Regions from separate parts of the Homo sapiens genome. Here all the other regions are linked to region 4. Evidence: promoter capture Hi-C in 16 types of primary human blood cells and fetal thymus (Javierre and others, 2016). All regions are on one chromosome and are shown on one strand. The core of a region is centred on a gene start or on the middle of the fragment in contact, and the rest is flanking DNA. Distances in the headings are between cores, read along the strand shown.

Region 1 (2,700 bases), core at 108-2,607, 1.7 Mb after region 4:
GCTATGTTTAGCAAAACCGGTAGTCTAGAAGCAGCCCAGGCTTTGCAGAATCTTGCACTCATGAGACCTGAATTGGTAATACCCCCTGTACTTGAAAGGTAAGTGGTTAGTGGGAGTCTCAGCCACAGCTAGGTTTTTCTTTTGGTCTGTTCAGCTCGATTCTCTTTTCTCCTCTGTGGCTTCTGTTTTGCTTCTTCGATGCTTATTCCTGTTCCTAGAGGAGAAGCAGGACATTTTAATGTAATGATTGGTAACTTGATAAAGGTTTATTGGAGAGAAAAAAATTGAAATGAAATGGGTAACATACATCTTTTGGATTCTTCACACATTTTAGTTACCAAAATTATATGCTTATGAATTAAGATCTGGCCTTCCTTTTTAGATCGAAATGTTGAGTGTCACTAAGGATTGAGAATATGGCAGTGAAAGTGGTTTTTGGATTTCTTTTATTTCTTAGAATCAGTGGTAGAGAAGAAAATTGTGTTTATTATTTTCATGTATTATATATTCAGGTGTGTTGTTTTTACAGTGTAAGTTTTATTTTATTCATTGTGTTTTGTGTGTTGAAATGGTAAGGAAAACTCTTTACTTGCCTAGCCACTGTCACAGAATAGGCGTGGTATACTTACAAAGAGAGAGACAGCTACTTTTCTTTTTTTTTTGAGATGAAATTTTGCTGTAGTCCCCCAGGCTGGAGTGCAAATCTTGGCTCACCGCAACCTCCGCCTTCCTGGTTCAAGGATTCCCCTGCCTCAGCCTCCTGAGTAGGTGGGATCACAGGCGCCCGCCACCACACCCAGCTAATTTTTGTATTTTTAGTAGAGACGGCGTTTCACCATGTTGGCCAGGCTGGTTTCGAACTCCTGACCTCAGGTGATCCACTCGCCTTGGCCTCCCAAAGTGCTGGGATTGCAGGTGTGAGCCACTGTGCCCGGCCTACTCTTAATTTGAGAGCAATTTTTAAAGTAACTTGTTCAAGAGCAAATTACTTAAGCTTTCTGTTGTACCTCTGATTCTTCCACTATCTGAAGCTTTATGATCTCTTTCTAAATGTTTTTGTCAAATATAGAGGAGGAATGTTAGTTTTTAGAACCCAGAAGGATCTAGCCATTGAGTTCCATAAAAATTTGTCCAAGGTCCCTAGTGGTAGAATTCAGACTATAGCCTATTTTCTGACTTATTGTTGAGACAGAATAAGTGTTGGTCATATTTACTTGGGGAAGGATACCGTGTTCAAGATCTTAACCAAAATGGGCCTCCATTATCTATAATTTTGAGCTGTTGATGCTGCCTTACCTGCCCTCATTGCCATAAATATTCAAGTTAGGCCGTACTTCATTTTCCCAACTTCTCCTATTTTTACATATACATCTTGGGGCATTGAAACTCTTCCAGCTTATAGAACTTAATTAGGAAATGGAGTGGGGGAAGATAGGCAGTTTCCTGTCCGTCTTCAACCCCCAGTATTCTTTGCTTCTTGGCCTCCACAGAGTAGCAGAAGCCAACAGTTAATGTTAGGTTCCCTGATGCTCCCTGGAGAGGAGGGACTTCATCTGTTTGCTTAGCTAACATTTTGAAGTTTGGAGTGTTTTTGATGTTTCTTTAGTTCCCCTTTGCTTTGTTATTTTCAGCTGATTAATTATGAATAGTGAGCTAAATTCTTAGTAGAAAGAACAAAGCTTATAAATAAATAGACCTATCACGTTTTTCTTTAGTCCTAAAATTTTGGACAAATGTAATATCAGCATATTAAGTGATATTGAATGCTTGGCCAAGATAAATATTTAATAGACCAAATTGACAATACAATGACATTTTTTGAGACTTTCAGTTGTAATTTGGTGCTGTTTTGAAGTGGCATCACCTTTTAAAATTTATTATTTATTTATTTATTTATTTATTATTTATTTATTTAGAGACAGACTCTTGCTCTGTTGCCCAGGCTGGAGTGCAGTGACATGATCTCAGCTCACTGCAACCTCCACCTCTCGGGTTCAAGCGATTCTCCTGTCTCAGCCTTCCGAGTAGCTGGGATTACAGGTGTCTGCCACCATGCCCAGCCAATTTTTGTATTTTTAGTAGAGATGGCGTTTCACCATGTTGGTCAGGCTGATCTTGAACTCCTGACCTCAAGCAGTCCGCCTGCCTTGGCCTCCCAAAGTGCTGGGATTACAGGTGTGAGCCACCATGGCTGGCCAAAGATTTTATTTTTAATAAAAGCAAAACTTTTTTAAAAACTAAAAATGTAGAAAAAAATCTTAGACACTTAGTTTTACATCTCCAAGAAAGCTTCTGTTAAAGAGTTTGGTATGTTTTCTCCATTAAAAAAAAAAAAAATAAGCAGCTAGGCTGGCTTATGCCTGTAGTCCCAGGACTTTGGAAGTCTGAGGAAGATGGATTGTTTGAGCTCAGGAATTTGAGACCAGCCTGGGCAACATGGCAAAACTCTGTCACTACAAAAAAAATACAAAAGTTAGCCGGGAGTGGTAACGTTTGCCAGTAGTCCCAGCTACTTGAGAAGCCAAGGCAGGAGGTTTACCTGATCTGGGCAATGTGGAGGCTGCAGTGAGCTGTGATCAGGCCACTGCACTCCAGCCTGGGGCAGAGTAAAACCCTGACTCCAGGGTTGGGGGTGGTCAGGGGAAAGAAAGAGTAGAGTATCTGTAACTTGTTATTCCACTGACTGACCGTTAGATTAGT
Region 2 (2,700 bases), core at 27-2,526, 1.6 Mb after region 4:
CATTGTCATCTCTCATTGAATTGCTGAAAACGCCTCCTAATTAGTCACAGTACTTTCATTCTTATCCCCTTATAATCTATAGTCCATTCAGAGTCAGGAGAGATCTTTTGAAAGTTTAAATCAATTTATATCATTTTCCTGATTAAAAACTTGTCTATAGGTTTCCATTGCACTTAGAGTAAATTTAAGTGCTTGGTTCACTCACTAGGTTAAAATTAAAAGTAAGTGCTTACTATGACACTGGTGAAAAGAAGGAAGGAAGGAAGGAGAAAGAAGAAAGGAAGGAAGGAAGGAGAAAGAAGGAAGGAAGAAAAAAAGTAGGAAGGAAGGAAAGAAAGAAAGGAAGGAAGAAAGAAGGAAGAAAGGGAGAGAGGGAGGGAGGGAAGGAGGAAGGAAGGAAGGAAGGAAGGGGAAAAAAGGAAGGAAAGAGGGAGGGAAGGAGGGAGGAAGGAAGGAGGGAAAGAGGGGCAAGAGCTCTTACATTGTGAAAAAGCTTGGCTTGATCAAGAAATTGAAAGAAGCTGGGTGTGGTGTCATGTGCCTGTAGTCTTAGCTACTTGGGAGGCTTGGCAGGAGGATTGCTTTAGGCCAAGAGCTCGAGTCTGCAGTACCCTATGAGCGCACTTGTGAATAGCCACTACACTCCATCTTGTACAACATACTTAGCCCTCATCGCTAAATAAAAATAAATAAATATAAAAAACTTAAAAAAAATTGAGAGAAGGTCGGAGTGCCTGGAGCAGGGTGAATGAGGTAAAATCAATATATGAGATGAAATACGGCCAGGCACAGTGGCTCACACCTGTAACCCCAACACTTTGGGAGACTGAGGCAGGTGGATCACCTGAGGTCGGGAGTTCGACACCAACCTGACCAACATGGAGAAACCCTGTCTCTACTAAAAATACAAAATTATCCAGGTGTGGTGGCGCATGCCTGTAATCCCAGCTACTCAGGAGGCTGAAGCAGGAGAATCACTTGAACCTAGGAGGCAGAGGTTGCAGTGAGCCAAGATCGCACCACTGCACTCCAACCTGGGCGAAAGAGTGAAATTCCATCTCAAAAAAAAAAAAAGAAAAAAAAGTTACACATACACCAGCCATTCTATGCCTAGGTATGTATCCAAGAGAAAAGTAGTTATATGTCCATACAATGACTTATACATGAATATTTATTGAAGCTTTATTTGTAATACCCAGAAACTGGGAACAACCAAAACGTCCATTAACAGATGAATGGATAAGCAAACTATGGTATGTTCATAGAATGCTACTCAGCAACATTTGAGAGAAAATTATAAAATCACAACATCTGATGATGACCAGCAGCATACCTTTGAACACTTGACCAGCAGCATCACCTGGAAGCTTGTTAGAAACACAAATTCTCGACAGGGCACGGTGGCTCACGCCTGTAATCCCAGCACTTTGGGAGTCCCAGGCGGGCGGATCACAAGGTCAGGAGATCTAGACTATCCTGGCTAACACAGTGAAACCCCGTCTCTACTGAAAATATAAAAAATTAGCCGGGCGTGGTGGCGGGCACCTGTAATCACAGCTACTCGGGAGGCTGAGGCAGGAGAATGGCGTGAACCCAGGAAGCGGAGCTGGCAGTGAGCCGAGATCGCGCCACCGCACTCCAGCCTGGGCGACAGAGCGAGACTCTGCCTTAAAAAACAAAAAACAAAACAAAAAAAAAACGCAAATTCTTAGGTCATCTGCAGACCTACTGAATCAGAAACTCTGACAGTAGAAGCTCTCTCAACCACTGCTTTATGCTAATTTGCTGAAAGTGAGGATTCTTTTTCTTTTTTTTTCTTTTTTTTTTTTTTTGGTAAGACGGAGTTTTGCTCTTGTCTCCCAGGCTGGAGTGCAATGGTGCCATCTCGGCTCGCTGCAAACTGCACCTCCCGGGTTCAACAGATTCTCCTGCCTCAGCCTCCCAAGTAGCTGGGATTACAGGTGGCCGCCACCACGCCCAGCTAATTTTTGTATATTTAGTATATTTGGGGTTTCACCATGTTGGCCAGGCTGGTCTCAAATTCCTGACCTCAGGTGATCCACCTGCCTCAGCCTCCCAAGGTGGTGGGATTACAGGCATGAGCCACAGCTCCCAGCTAGGATTCTTGATATATCAACTATCTTGCTTGTTAGAAGTGAACTCTGGCTAAATTAAATAGAAGATGAATTTACTGAAAAGTGTTATATGCCAGGAGTGGTGGCTCATGCCTGTAATCACAACACTTTGAGAGGCCGAGGCGGGTAAGTCACTTGAGGTCAGGAGTTCAAAACCAGCCTGACCAACATGGTGAAACCTTGCCTCTACTAAAAATACAAAAATTAGCCAGGTGTAGTGGTGCATGCCTGTAGACCCAGCTACTCCGGAGGCTGAGGCAGGAGAATTGCTTGAACCCAGGAGGTAGAGGTTGCAGTGAGCCGAGATCACACCATTGCACTCAGCCTGGGCAACAGAGCAAGACTCCATCTCAAAAAAAAAAAAAAAAGAAAAGAAAAGAAAAGGGTTTATGTAACTCACAGAAGTGATGAGAAATGATGAAAACATTCTCAAACAATTGGCTGGGACCAAGGGAGTAGGAGTGGCAGGAACAGTCTGGTGGAGATGCTGCTGCCACCACCAACATAGGACATCTCTAGTATTTGACATAATGGCCACTGTAGGCAGCCACTACTCACAATAAAC
Region 3 (2,700 bases), core at 22-2,521, 1.7 Mb after region 4:
AGGTGGAGGTTTTGCCATGTTGGCCAGGCTGATCTTGAACTCCTGACCTCAAGTGATCTGCCTGCCTCGGCCTCCCAAAGTGCTGGGACTACAAGTGTGACTCACTACACCTGACCTGAATTATTTACTCAAGATAGTATTGCTAGATGAAGGATTTTTATTAATTTGTTATTATTACATTTTTAAATATGTATAATAGAGATGAGGGTCTCACTCTGTTGCCCAGGCTGGTCTTGAACTCCTGGATTCAAGTGATTCTCCTGCTTCTGCCTTCCAAAATGCTGGGATTTCAGGCATGAGCCATGGCGCCTAGCCCACTGTCTTTCTTTCTTTCCTTTTTTTTTTGAAATGGAGTCTCCCTCTGTTGCCCAGGCTGGAGTGCAGCAGCGAGATCTTGGCTCACTGCAACCTCTGCCTCCCGGGTTCAAGCGATTCTCCTGCCTCAGACTCCCGAGTAGCTGGGTTTGCAGGCGCGTGCCGCCACACCCGGCTAATTTTTGTATTTTTAGTAGAGATGGGGTTTCACTGTGTTGGTCAGGCTGATCTCGAACTCCTGACCTCGTGATCTGCCTGCCTCGGCCTCCCCAAGTGCTGGGATTACAGGCGTGAGCCACCGCGCCCGGCCAGCCCACTGTCTTTCTTATGATTAAAAATTAAATCATTTGATTAATACACTGTAGGGCTGTGAGGAGGAAGCGGCTGGAAATGCTATTGTATTATCTTTTACTCTTTTTTGTTCTTCCCCTGTGGGAGGATGGAACAAAATGACTTGTTATCCATATATTCTGGATGGTTGAAAGAAATATTCTATATCAATCACGTTCAATCGTGACTGTTTACCAGGGTTTTCAGTTATTTTGGGACACCTAATAGTAATCATTAGTCCTAAAACCTAATGTGAAAATTAACTGGAAAGAGGGAATGCACCATCTGTAGATACAGTCTAAAGTAGGGTTTTTGAACTTAAGCTTACAGGAAAGTCAAACCAGAGTAGTCTAAAAAATGAAGATTGGTAGTCTGCACTCTAGCACTCCAGGAATTTATTTTTCATTCACCTTAAAAAAAAAAAAAGACAAACAGCTTTACTGAGATTTAATATTCCTAGGATTTTTGGATCCCAAGAATAATGCATTTTAAAAGTTACCCTGCATAGTTCTTCTTTTTCTTTTTTTTTTTTTTTTTTTTAATAGACATGGGGTTTCACCATGTTGCTCAGGTTGGTCTTGAACTCCTGATCTCAATTGATCCTCCTGCCTTCGCCTCCCAAAGTGCTGGGATTACAGGTATACTACGCCCAGCCTTTTTGCCCATTTTTAATTGGATTATGTCTTTTTCTTACTAGTAATTTGGATATGAGTTCTTTGTCAAATATATGTATTTCTGGGCTTTTTACTTTTAATGGTGTCTTATAGTGACTAGAAGTTATTTATGATAAAGACCAATTTATTAATTTTCTTTTTATAGTTAGAACTTTTGTGCCCTTTTAAAACAAATCTCTTGCACCATATTTTGATAAATGCTGAGATAAGAACCACTTGCTGGTTGGCGAGGAACTGGGGGAAATAGAAGCTTTCTGAGGAGTCCCTCCAGAATCTTTAGATTTGTCAGCAGCCCTAGGCTTTCCAGGAATCCCCCTGTTGGTCTCTTTTTATAGTATTAAAATTTGAGCTTTGTTAATTTTATGTCCCTAACTAATGTTAAATATACAGTTGTCTGTCTACTGCAATGAAAACAATGGGCTGTAGCTAAGTTACTTCAGTGGCTTGGAGCAGGGGGTCCCCCAACCCCCAGCTCAGGGACTGGTATGGGTCTGTGGCCTGTTAGGAACCGGGCTGCACAGCAGGAGGTGAGCAGTGGACAGGCGATTGGGCATTACCGCCTGAGGTCCACCTCCTGTCAGATTAGCCATGATGTTAGATTCTCATAGGAGCTCATATCCTATTGTGAACTGCCCGTGCAAGGGATCTAGGTTGTGTACTCCTTATGAGATTCTCCCTGGTACCAAAAAGGTTGGGGACTGCTGGCTTAGAGTACAGTGTTTCTCTAGTTTTTCTGCAGAAGTATCCTAACCACAGGGGAGAATGAATGCATGACTCCAGGGGCATCTGGAATCTTTCTGTTTGTTTGTTTGAGACTGAGTCTCTCTCTGTTGCCCAGGCTGGAGAACTCTAGCACCATCTCGGCTCAGCTGCAACCTCCGCCTCCCAGGTTCAAACAATTCTCCTGCCTCAGCCTCCCGAGTAGCTGGGATTAGAGGCGCGCACCACCATGCCCAGCTAATTTTTGTATTTTTAGTAGAGACAGGGGTTTCATCATGTTGGCCAGGATGGTCTCCATCTCTTGACCTCGTGATCCGTCTGCCTCGGCCTCCCAAAGTGCTGGGATTACAGGTGTGTAGTAGAGACAAAGTTTCACCATATTGGCCAGGCTGGTGGTCTCGAACTCCTAATCTCACGTGATCTGCCCACCTCGGCCTCCCAAAGTGCTGGGATTACAGGCATGAGCCACCACGCCTGGCTGGTATCTGGAATATTGACAAGGCCTGAAGCAGCCACTGAAAGCAGGGAATTTTTCTTTGATGTCTTCTGTCTTTATCTTAAAAATGTGTTCCAGTTTTTAGGGAGATGTTTGTGTTCATTTAAAATAACATTTTAATGATTCTAGCTTTTGCTCCTAAATTTAGAGTGAAATTGAGGGAGG
Region 4 (2,700 bases), core at 14-2,513:
GCCTAGTTTTCACCGATCAGGCTAATGAGCTGCACAGAAGTGGCAGCTGAACAAGCTGAGAGACTGTATTAAAGAACGAATATAGCGGGGATGGGGAGCAGGCGTCTACGGTCCCAGCTACTCGGGAGGCTGAGGTGAGAGGATCGCTTGAGCCCTCAAGGCGGAGGCTACAGTGAGTCGAGATAGCGCCATTGCACTCTAGCCTGGGAAGCAGAGAGAGACTATCAAAAACAACAAAACGAATAAAGGGATTCTACCAAGAGTGAGCTGGACTGAAATAAACGACACGCTACTACGACCCAGCGCGTGACTATATCCACCGCACAATGTGCGATAATAGCCTCAATGCAGAGAGAATTCCTCCTTTCCTTATTCAGTGCAAGAGAGCCCTATAGAGAACGCAGGAAATGCCCGCGAGAAACTGAGAAGTATCAAAACAATCACAGATATGTTAGGAAAGTAGCTCCCCGCCACTTCCCTAAACTTATCATAGCAGACTTACTTTCCAAGGTTACAAACACAAGAAGAGCACTGTATTTTCATGAAGCGGAAAATGTGCTTTACAATCGCCAGCTACTAAGAGCCTTAACGGTGAAGCGCTCTGCAAGAAACAGGAAATCGTCAACACACTTTCTGCATGAATTGCCTGGAGAGTTGTGTCCATAGACAATTCCTGGTTAGATGCTTAATTGTAGCAGACTCCATAACGGGGTTTAGCGGGTTTCCATTCGGCAGAAAGGGCTCCACGTTCTTTTTCACAGAAAGGTTTAAACTTATTTTTCCTCCTCAGGCGGACGAAGTGAGCGTCGTTCCGTGAAGGTATGAAACCCTTTTCCTTCCTTTCTGTCCCTGGTTACTCCGGTTCAAGGCTACGTACTTCCCCGGTTTGCTTTGTTTTTTCCTCAGAGCTAAGTTCCTAGGAACGTCACATACTGGTGCCATCCAACAACATGACGACGTGCGGAACCGAAGTCCCCTTCCACCTAGCGGCCTCTCGCGGCGCAGGCGTGGACGGGGAGATCGCGAGAACCTCCCGCCCAATTGCGACCCCGCGCCAAGAGGCGGGGCCGAAAGAGGAGGAAGTCGGGCCGAAAGAGGAGGAAGTCTCGCCGAAGTACTCCCGCCCCAGTCGGTACCCCTCCTCGCGAGAGCGCCGAGCATTCCGGCCTGGGAAGCGCGTGCAGAAGCGGAGGTGCTGCTCATGGGACTTGTCGGCCGCCGTAGCCCCTGCTAGGACAGCCCGTGCGAGCCTGCTGGAGGAGGAAGAGAAAGGCAGAGAGAGTCGGGTTACAAGATGGCGGATCTGTAGTAGTTACCGCGGCGGCGGGAGAGCAAGCGAGCCCTGGGGGGCAAAGAGACGGGAGAGTGGGTGTATGCGCGGGTGAAGTGAGAGGTAACGGGGCCTCCGGGCGGAGAGGCCTCAGTGGCTCTTGTCACCCCTTCTCGCGGCTGAACCTTTGGAGCCATGGTGAATTCGGGCCTCTCCGAAGCCGCCGCCGCCGCCACCGCCACTACTGCCTTTACCGTCTCCTAAGAGTGAGGAGCGCGGACGAGGTAAGCGAGGAGGCGGCGGCTAGAGCGGTGGAGACAGCAGCCACCATGTCGGATACGCGGCGGCGAGTGAAGGTCTATACCCTGAACGAAGACCGGCAATGGGACGACCGAGGCACCGGGCACGTCTCCTCCACTTACGTGGAGGAGCTCAAGGGGATGTCGCTGCTGGTTCGGGCAGAGTCCGACGGTAAGGTTATCGGAACTGTAGAATAGGGGATAGTGCCTCTGGTTGGGGCACAGCTTGGGTTTAGGGCCCTGGGCCCGTTACCGTTGCTACTCCTTCGGGACAGCGCGTTGGTTCTGAACTGGCTCTTGTGTACGGCAAAAACAAAGTACTGTACTTTTGACTGGACTTATCCTCGGAGACCGAGACTCTCTGTCCTTCTCCCATCTCTCTTAAGGATTGGACTCCTTCCTTTCCAGTCCCTCCTCTTTTGAAGAGGGGAGAGTGTGAGAGAGAAGGGAGGAAGTAGTGAGAGACTAGGTACTGATGTCGCCCTAGGAGCTGACACCTTCCTCCCCCTTTATTTACTTATCCATTATACGTCTAGTACAAACGGTTTAGGGAAACTTTTCTTTCCGAGTGTTTTTAAAAAAAAAAAATTGTACCAACGGGCCCCAGGTGCCACAGTCGACAGGTGCTGGGGAAAACCGAAAGGCACGTTTTCCTGGCTGTATTGCTGACTGTTGCCACGATACATGGACACACAAGCACATACATCTGTAGTCTGCATTTCTTCGGGCTGCCTTTGTAGAAGGCGCTATGAGAAAGTGAATGCCTTACAATCTAAGCAAGTTGGGACACCAAAGCAGGTTGTAAACTGCTGTGTTCTTTGGTTTATTGTAGTCATGTGAAGTATTTTAAATTACAAAATGTAGAGCCGTAATTAAAATGCCTTTTATAGTATAATCTGGACTTGATTTGAACAACTGATATAGGCAGTTAGAAAAATAATCTTAGGTTTAGTCTTGACATATTTTGTATTCTTGCTTGTTCCCTTTTATTTTAAATAGTCATCACTTCTACAGAAGGTGTTCTTTTGTTCTTAATGAGGAAAGGATAAATGCAGCACTGTAATTTCTATACTAAGTATTTAATCCCTGTCATGATGTTTTTGTTTTGTAATTTGCATTATTTGTTAAACT
Region 5 (2,700 bases), core at 6-2,505, 1.6 Mb after region 4:
CTCCCGAGTAGCTGGGACTACAGGCGCCCGCCACCATGCCCGGCTAATTTTTTTGTATTTTTAGTAGAGACGGGGTTTCACCATGTTAGCCAGGATGGTCTCCATCTCCTGACCCCGTGATCCACCCGCCTCGGCCTCCCAAAGTGCTGGGATTACAGGCGTGAGCCACCACGCGCCTGGCCCTTTTATTTTTTGAGACGGAGTTTCGCTCTTGTTGCCCAGGCTGGAGTGCCCTGGCGCGATCTTGGCTCACTGCAACCTCCGCCTTCCGGTTTCAAGCGATTCTCCTGCCTCAGCCTCCCGAGTAGCTGGGATTACAGGCGTCCGCCACCACGCCCGGCTAACTTTTTTGTATTTTTAGTAGAGACGGGGTTTCACCATGTTGGCCAGACTGGTCTCGAACTCCTGACCTCGTGATCCGCCCGCCTCGGCCTCCCAAAGTGCTGGGATTACAGGCGTGAGCCACTGCGCCCGGCCGCCAGAGTAATTCTTAAAAAATGTAAATTATATCATCCCACTGCTATGCTTAAAATCTTTTGGAAGTTTGTCTCTAGGATAAAGCTCTGAATTCCTTAGGATTGCCTTCTCAGTCTCATTTCTCCGTCCCCTCTCTTACGCTATTTTGAACTTTGAATTTTTAGAATACATGCTTGCAGCGTCAAAGCTGTTCTCTCAGCTGAAATACGTGTCCTCCTCCCTCCTTTTTCTAACCAACTTTGCACTCAACCTTCATAGCTTAAATTAAGTATCACTTCTAGGAAAATGACACCCTCTCAAACCCCCTAGTTTCAACTTCTTTGTAGAGTTCCTAAGGATTCTTGTACTTATCTAGCAATTAAGAGCATTATCTTGTAATTCACGTCTTTATCTCTGCTAGACTAAGTCCTTGGGAGGGCGGAAACCAGGTTAAACTTTCTATCTCAATAGCCTAAACTGAGCGCCTTACACACAAAACAGCTGTTCAAATAGCATTTGTTCAGCGAGTAACTATTTTCTTCTTTGGAATGATGGCGGCCAGAATACCAGAAAGATGGGGACTTAAAGGGGACAGAAAAATTAAATCTATAAGGAACAAGCGGGATGGAGTAAATAAATCTATAAGGAGCAAGTGGGTACGTAGGCTTTTCCATAAACCCCTCTAACCCAGAAGCCGGGGCTGCTCGGCTAGGGGGACCAGGCCGACCTGGCTGCCGCCTGTCGTGGCGACTGGGACTCCAGTGGGCTGCCGCTTGGAGTGCGCGACCCCCGGCGAAGCAGGACAATAGCTTGGAATTCGGCCTCGTGTTTCCGGTGAGGCAGCCTCGCGCTGGGCCGGTGAGGCCTGGGGTGGGGGCTCCGAGCCGGGCCCACGGCGAAGAAGGCGCAGCCCGTTGGGCTCCAGCTGCCGCCACCACCGCCTCCCCCGACGCCGTCGCTCCGCCCCGCCCCGCCCCGGAAGTGACTTGAGGCCGGTCCGGAACCTCTGGGCCCGGCGGCTGCAGCGTCACCAGCAGAGCCGGTGCGGGGCGGGCAGAGCGGCCGCTGCCGCCGCCAACGAACTGAGAGCCGCGTGGGGCCCAGCAGCACGCCGGCCAGGGAAGGGGGCCTAGCGATCGGTCCGAGGGCGACGGGCCGCCAGCGGCCGCAGGGCGACGAAGACGCGGAGGAGGCGGAGCCCGGAGAGGGGTGGGGGCCGGGGAGGGTTCGGGTGGGAGGGGGTGGGGGGGGTGTCCCTGGGCTCATGGAGCCGGCCGAGCGGGCGGGAGTCGGAGAGCCCCCGGAGCCGGGCGGGCGTCCCGAGCCGGGCCCGCGGGGCTTCGTCCCGCAGAAGGAGATCGTCTACAACAAGCTGCTGCCCTACGCGGAGCGGCTAGACGCCGAGTCCGACTTGCAGCTGGCCCAGATCAAATGCAACCTGGGCCGGGCCGTGCAGCTCCAAGAGCTGTGGCCCGGGGGCCTCTTCTGGACCAGGAAACTCTCCACGTAAGTGTGCCCGGGCCTGCGGGCCGGGCCGGGGGGAAAGGCTCAGTGAGAGGTGTCGGGGATGGTTGCTCTTTGTCCAGAGGGCTGGACCCTTAGCTCTGTCCTCGCTGGAGCTGTCCCCGAGCGGTGATCCCAGGGTCGTGACAGAGCCTGTGAAGTACTCAAGCCGTCCTCCCTGCCACTTTCCTACGGGACTTCCCGGGTCTTTACCATCCCTCTACGTCCTCCGCATCTGCTTCTCCCGAAGTGTTCGGGTTGTTGTCTTCCCACCTGGGGGGCCCTGGGTAGCCCAAGGGCCCCGGCCCCGAGGGAGAGAGGTGAGCCTTTCTCAAGGGTCCTCCGTGGACTTTTGCGCATGGGAGAGGCGGGGCAAAGAGAATTTGTCTTTGGGGGAGTTCCTTGACTTGTCTCCTTGCTTCCTCCGGTTCTTCCTTCCCCTACGATCCCCGCCTCTTCGCATCTCCGTTGGCGTCTAGTAACTTTCTGAATGGAGAGAAGACCATAGGGAAACTTAAGGGTTTTGCTTTTTGGGGGCCCTCTCAGACCTGGCGGAGTTGATCGAAAAGGGTCGTTTAAAGTCAGACCTCATTCTTGAGCTTAACGTCTTATGTGGACAGTGTTGTTTTGGATTGTGTGTTGCTCCTGTTGTGACATTTCTTTTGGAGAGACATTTAAGATACTGAGGAAAGTAGGGAAGAGCACTGTCAGGATGTCCAGGGCGATATTAGTATCAGGCTT
Region 6 (2,700 bases), core at 122-2,621, 1.5 Mb after region 4:
GAACCCCATCTAGAATCCGGCCTTTTGCGGAAAAATTCAGTGTTCTTTCCACTCTGCCACACTGCCTTCAACAGTCTTTCATTCACTCATTCAACAGATGTTTACTGAATACCCAGTATGTGCCATGTGTAGGTGCTGGGGAGAAGGTGATGTTTTATTTATTAATAGGGTCCAGGCGCAATGGCTCATGCCTGTAATCTCAGCAATTTGGGGGCCTGAGGCAGGAGGATCGCTTGAGCCCAGGAGTTAGAGACCAGCCCGGGCAACATGGCAAAACCCTTCTCCACAAAAAATACAAAAATTAGCCAGACATGGTGGTTTGGCTGTAGTTCCAGCTACTCGGGAGGCTGCACCTGTAGTCCCAGCTACTTGGGAGGCTGAGGTGGGAGAATCACTTGAGCTAGGGAGGTAAGCCATGATCATGCCACTGTACTCTAGCCTGGGCAATAAAACGAGACCCTGCCTCAAAAATAAATAAATAAATAAATTTAAAAAATTTAGAGATGGGGGTAGATTAGGGCTTAGAGAGGTTGTCTGGGAAGGTCTCTGGGGAAGTGATCGCTGAAGAATGGATAAGAAGAAACCAAGAAGAAAGGTGGGAGAACTTAATCCACGCAGAGGGAATAGCATGTAGAAAGCTCGAGTTTCCCAAGTAGGAGAAACTGAAAGAAGCCCAGTGTGGCTGCTGCATTATAAAATATGAGATGGTGGCATTAAATACAGCTTTCAGTCAAGGCAAGGAGAAAGGTCATGCCAGGCTGTGGAAGCCACGGTGGAGTCTGGTTCCTGTTCCAAGTACAGTGGGAAGCCGGGGAAGAGTGCTCAGGCTCTATGTTGCATGCTGCAAATCAGAAGTTTTCCTGGGGGGAAATTTCCTGAATTGTTTTCAACAAAATAGTATTCAAAAAACATCTGAATATTTCCCCAAAAATATCTTCCAGAGACCACTAGATAGTTTGCTAACAATTGTGTAGGCTTCGAAGGGAATACCTGAATTATACCCCATGCCTCAGCTTGTAACACAGTGTTACACTGTGGACACAGTTATCCTCTAAGACCTGACTAGACCCCACTTTTTGTGCAATCCCCTATCAGCCTTTTTTGTCTAGTTGCACATTATGTTCACTTGGGGAACTTGGGGAGTGTTCTTCCCATCTCCAGAAATTTTAATGTAATTAATATGGTGCTGGGCCAGCCATCAGCAGTTGTTAAAAAGCTTCTCAGGTAGTTCTACTGTTTAGCCAGGGTTGAGGATTGCTGATCTGAGGGATTGTGATAAATGACTTTTATGTAATACTTTCTCATTGTCAAAGTGATTTTTGTCAAGTGTAGAATACTCAGACTAACATAAGACTAAAACAGTAGCCTGTAAGGTGACTGTTTATTTGGTGTATCACTCAGGCTCCAGAGTTCTGTATCTAGCAGTTTGGTAAAATCTAACTACATCAAAAATGTCTACTTAACAAAACCTGGAAAAGTTCTTTACAAAGGTGACAAAAGGACTTGAGCTACATGACTAAGCTTGCCCTTTTATGGTTATCCATTTTACTACACACCAATTTTAAAATAAATATATAATACACTATAATACCAAAGGTACATAGTGGGAGGCTCTGATAATTTCCACTTCTTCCTCATGAAGGAATTTATGAACACTTAGTCATTATAATCAAAGAATACTTTCTTTTCTCATCCTATCTTGATTCTGTTCTCCAAGACTACTGATCATCATCCATGCATCAATGTACTCTTGTCCCACACCAGGCAGCATCAGTATATATCTCCCATCAGAATCCTAATTCTACATGCCAGATGTTCTTAATCTGTACATTTGGAACAGCTCGAAGTTCATTTTAAGTACCAAGTCTCTACCGCCAATAGAGGCAGTACCCACAGTTACACTCAGGAAAATACTGGCTGCCTGCTTTCTTGTTCAACCTGGGGCTGGCTTTGGTCTGTTTAGCTTAGCCTTGCAGCACTCTCTCTAACCTGCAGGATCTGACTGGCATCTGTATTCAGTGTAGCTGCAGGCATTTCCTCTGCCTGCTGCATGACCTGGCCGGCTAGGGCAAAGGGTGGGGAAGGGGAGGGGCTTATTCTGCTCTATTTGGCTACAGAGCAACATCAAGCTGCATATGAATCACTCATAGTACTCCCTGTGGGATACCATTAAAGATCCTCTGATATTTAATGCTCAGAACACTATTCTCTAATATTTCCTATTCACTTTCTTGAGCTCTATATTTTCAAATAAATAAATCATATTTCATAGTCATAAACATGTTAGAAGAATAGGAAGAAAATCAATGGCCCATTTTACAGATGAGAAAACTGGGCCACAGAAGTTAAATCAGAGTAATAACTAAGCCATACAACTATTTAGTGTTTAGAATGAGGATGAGTAAAAGCATAATACCCATTGCATGGATCTATGTGTAATTTAAAACAGTAATCTTGAATAAAAATGTAAATAACAAAGTTAGGAAGCAAATGACAAACTGGAAAAAAAACATTTCCAGCATGCAAAACTGAAAGGAATTAAGACCAAGGTTAAGATGTTAGGAACACCTTAAAAGCACTGTCCTAACAGCAAAATGGACAGATAACTCATAAAAACCCAAATGCAAATGATCAACAGATATCTGAAATAATGTTTATGAATGAATGTGAAATAAAACAATGATGTGGTGGACATGTGTT
Region 7 (2,700 bases), core at 48-2,547, 1.1 Mb after region 4:
ATTTATAGTAAGAAAAATGAGAAATGAGGCACAGAGCCGTGTGCCCAGAGTTACAAAGCAAGCTACCGGCATGCTGGAGATTAGAAAGCAGGCCTTCTGAATTCCTGCTGCCATTTCTAGAGCAAACCTGAAGGAAGAGGAAGCTAAGCACAAAGGAAGTAGCGTGCATTTCTCATGCCAGTCAATGAAGTGGGCCCAGGGCTTGGAATCAGGGAAAACTCACCTTAATGTCCTTTCCCCACTGCCTTCCAGCATCCACCACAAAGGTGGAGCCAAAAGGCCTGTCCTGAGTGCTAGATGAGTGATATCTGTTTATGTTCTCTGATGTCCAACTTGCACCAGCTCAGAGAGAATGACAGCCCAGGATGCGGTACAAGCACAGCTTCCATGTCATCTTTCCAGCCCAGTGTAGAACCATACACAAAGTTGGCCTCAGCAAACTTTGTTGTTTAAAAATCCTTTTTCTCAGTTTTATACATTGATCTTTCCTTTATTATTCTTATGGTGTCCTGAGGAATAGCCTACTCAGGAGGCACTTAAAAAAATACCTGACAAATGGATTTATTCATCACAACCAGAATTATTTTATTTATTCTGAGATGGAGCCTCGCTCTGTTGCCCTGGCTGGAGTGCAGTGGCATGATCTTGGCTCACTGCAAGCTCCACCTCCTGGGTTCATGCCATTCTCCTGCCTCAGCCTCCCAAGTAGCTGGAACTATAGGCACCCGCCACCACGCCTGGCTAATTTTTTGTATTTTTAGTAGAGACGGGGTTTCACCGTGTTAGCCAGGATGGTCTCGATCTCCTGACCTCGTGATCTGCCCGCCTTGGCCTCCCAAATGCTGGGATTACAGGTGTGAGCCACCACGCCTGGCCACAACTAGAATTTTAATGACAGGTGAAGAATGAAGAGAAAGAAGAGAAAGACTAAGCTCTTTTCTAATACCTGCCAAGCTCACCTATAACTACCTCTCCACTCACCTCTTTTCATTACTATTTTTATCACCGATACCTTAATCACCATTACCCTTTTAATTACCATCTACCAAGAAAAACACAATTTGAGACCACGTTGGTGCCTTTTTTCCATTATATCGTATTTTGAATAACATTCTAAAAGCTTCAGTAAAGGATATGGAGAAATTGGAACCCTTGTACGCTGTTGGTAGGAATGTAAATGGTGCAGCTGCTGTGGGAAATAGTATGGAGGTTCTGCAAAAAATTAAAAATATAACTACCATATGGTCCAGCCATTCCCCTTCTGGATATATATCCAAAAGAACTGAAAGCAGGATCTCAAAGAGACACTTGCATTCCTATGTTCATTGCAGTATCATTCGCAATAGCAAGAGGTGAAAACTCTAATGTCCATCAATGGATGAATGGATAAACAAAATGTGGCATATACATATAATTGAATATTACTTAAAAAGAAGAAAATTCTGTCATATGCTATAACATGGATGAAGCTTGAGGACATCATGTTAAATGAAATAAGCCAGTTAGAAAAAAAACAAATATTACATGATTCCACTTACATGCAGTATGTTGAGTAGTTAAACTCATGGAAAGAGAAAGTAGAATGGTGGTTGCCAGGAGCTGGGGGAAGGGGAACGTGGTGAGTTATTGTTTAATGGGTGTAGAGTTTCAGTTTTTCAAAATGAAAAGGGTCTAGAGATCTGACTGCACAACAATATGAACATAGTTAACTCTACTGAAGTTACATTTAAAAATGGTTAACATGGTAAACCTTATGTTATGTGGTTTTTTTTTTTTTTTTACCACCATTAAAAATGAATTTTAAAAACATACTTCAGTAAAGACAAGGAATGCACCACTGGGCAGGGGAAGAAACAGCAGATCTATAAAGCCACATGTTCCCCACCTATGATGCTGAAGCTCAAATCAAACATTCTCAAATGCTGTCAACCAACACATTGATCTCTCCAAGTCCTATCTTCCACCCTTAGGAAAAAAGATATTTACTCGGAATCCTGCCAACTCTCATTTTTACAACAAAAGGCCTCATAAATTACGTACTGCCTTCCAGCCTCACATTTGTGTGCAGTGCGATAGAGTTTATCAGAGTTTATCCATTTCCCACAGAGTTGTCATTAGAGTCAGAACTCATGATCTCGACAACCCAACCTTCATGAAATTGTTCAAAAACTTTATTTTTCAGTCAGCATCTTTGAGATTGAGTCCTCAAAACACAGGGGAAATAAATTGGTAGTTTAGAAATAGTAGCAATGCATCATACTCAAGCAGGCAGGTACACATTTACACAACTTAGGAGTGTGTGTATGCACATATACAGGAGAATGCCTACATGTATACAGATCACTTTAACAGATATCAGACAAGTTTTTCTTACTCTGAAGTTTTTGTGATACCCCCATCATCAACTATCCTGAAACACTTAGACTTTGCCCAGCCAGCTAAAGAACACTGATATTCTGTCAATGTGGGTACATACATAGTTTGCTGTTACGAATAATTTTGCCATAATAAGGGCTTATGAAGCAACAGACCAAGGTTCTTACTGATCAAAAAATTGTCCTTGTAGTTGGCCTATTAGAGATCACGGAAGGGCAAATGGCAAAAATCATTACACAGGAAAGAGGTCTGTAATTTGTAGTGATTATAATCAAAGTTACACTAGTTCTTGTTAATAACACTCTACAAGAGCCTGCATTTCTG

The links. The method cuts DNA at HindIII sites, captures the fragments that hold promoters and counts their contacts. A CHiCAGO score of 5 or more calls a contact.
Region 1: a contact is called between a fragment that was not itself captured here and the fragment with the promoter of PPP4R3B in region 4, in 4 of 17 cell types (M2 macrophages, fetal thymus, total B cells and 1 more). The highest score is 8.7, in M2 macrophages.
Region 2: a fragment that was not itself captured here is called in contact with the fragment with the promoter of PPP4R3B in region 4 in 3 of 17 cell types (total CD4 T cells, total CD8 T cells and total B cells); the score reaches 6.1 in total CD4 T cells.
Region 3: a contact is called between a fragment that was not itself captured here and the fragment with the promoter of PPP4R3B in region 4, in 1 of 17 cell types (activated CD4 T cells). The highest score is 6.1, in activated CD4 T cells.
Region 5: a contact is called between a fragment that was not itself captured here and the fragment with the promoter of PPP4R3B in region 4, in 1 of 17 cell types (fetal thymus). The highest score is 6.2, in fetal thymus.
Region 6: a contact is called between a fragment that was not itself captured here and the fragment with the promoter of PPP4R3B in region 4, in 1 of 17 cell types (total B cells). The highest score is 5.4, in total B cells.
Region 7: a contact is called between a fragment that was not itself captured here and the fragment with the promoter of PPP4R3B in region 4, in 1 of 17 cell types (total B cells). The highest score is 5.2, in total B cells.

Annotation. Positions count from the first base shown.
Region 1 is chr2:53,929,233-53,931,932 of GRCh38, reverse strand. PSME4 (proteasome activator subunit 4) reads left to right here. Exons shown (of 47, transcript NM_014614.3): 10 at 1-98. Among named protein-coding and RNA genes, the nearest start is that of PSME4, 40 kb to the left of the region's middle. The HindIII fragment of the contact is 648 bases long and covers 1,034-1,681 here.
Region 2 is chr2:53,989,785-53,992,484 of GRCh38, reverse strand. It overlaps a transcript of ACYP2 not described here. Among named protein-coding and RNA genes, the nearest start is that of PSME4, 20 kb to the right of the region's middle. The HindIII fragment of the contact is 187 bases long and covers 1,183-1,369 here.
Region 3 is chr2:53,951,973-53,954,672 of GRCh38, reverse strand. The region is part of intron 1 of PSME4 (proteasome activator subunit 4); the gene reads left to right. Among named protein-coding and RNA genes, the nearest start is that of PSME4, 18 kb to the left of the region's middle. The HindIII fragment of the contact is 601 bases long and covers 971-1,571 here.
Region 4 is chr2:55,616,185-55,618,884 of GRCh38, reverse strand. It overlaps PPP4R3B (protein phosphatase 4 regulatory subunit 3B), which reads left to right and starts at 1,263. Exons shown (of 17, transcript NM_001122964.3): 1 at 1,263-1,741. The coding sequence starts at 1,600. It overlaps PPP4R3B-DT (PPP4R3B divergent transcript), which reads right to left and starts at 955. Exons shown (of 3, transcript NR_186624.1): 1 at 503-955. RefSeq lists enhancers at 893-942, 963-1,362, 456-1,380, 1,381-2,307. The HindIII fragment of the contact is 10,945 bases long and covers 1-2,700 here.
Region 5 is chr2:53,969,805-53,972,504 of GRCh38, reverse strand. It overlaps PSME4 (proteasome activator subunit 4), which reads left to right and starts at 1,512. Exons shown (of 47, transcript NM_014614.3): 1 at 1,512-1,962. The coding sequence starts at 1,721. It also overlaps a transcript of ACYP2 not described here. RefSeq lists enhancers at 994-1,043, 1,339-1,633, 1,900-2,664 and silencers at 1,244-1,633, 1,508-1,669, 1,644-1,843. The HindIII fragment of the contact is 6,659 bases long and covers 1-2,700 here.
Region 6 is chr2:54,103,263-54,105,962 of GRCh38, reverse strand. It overlaps a transcript of ACYP2 not described here. Among named protein-coding and RNA genes, the nearest start is that of ACYP2, 11 kb to the left of the region's middle. The HindIII fragment of the contact is 305 bases long and covers 1,219-1,523 here.
Region 7 is chr2:54,546,039-54,548,738 of GRCh38, reverse strand. All of the region lies in intron 2 of SPTBN1 (spectrin beta, non-erythrocytic 1), which reads right to left. The region is part of intron 1 of SPTBN1-AS1 (SPTBN1 antisense RNA 1); the gene reads left to right. Among named protein-coding and RNA genes, the nearest start is that of SPTBN1-AS1, 11 kb to the left of the region's middle. The HindIII fragment of the contact is 349 bases long and covers 1,123-1,471 here.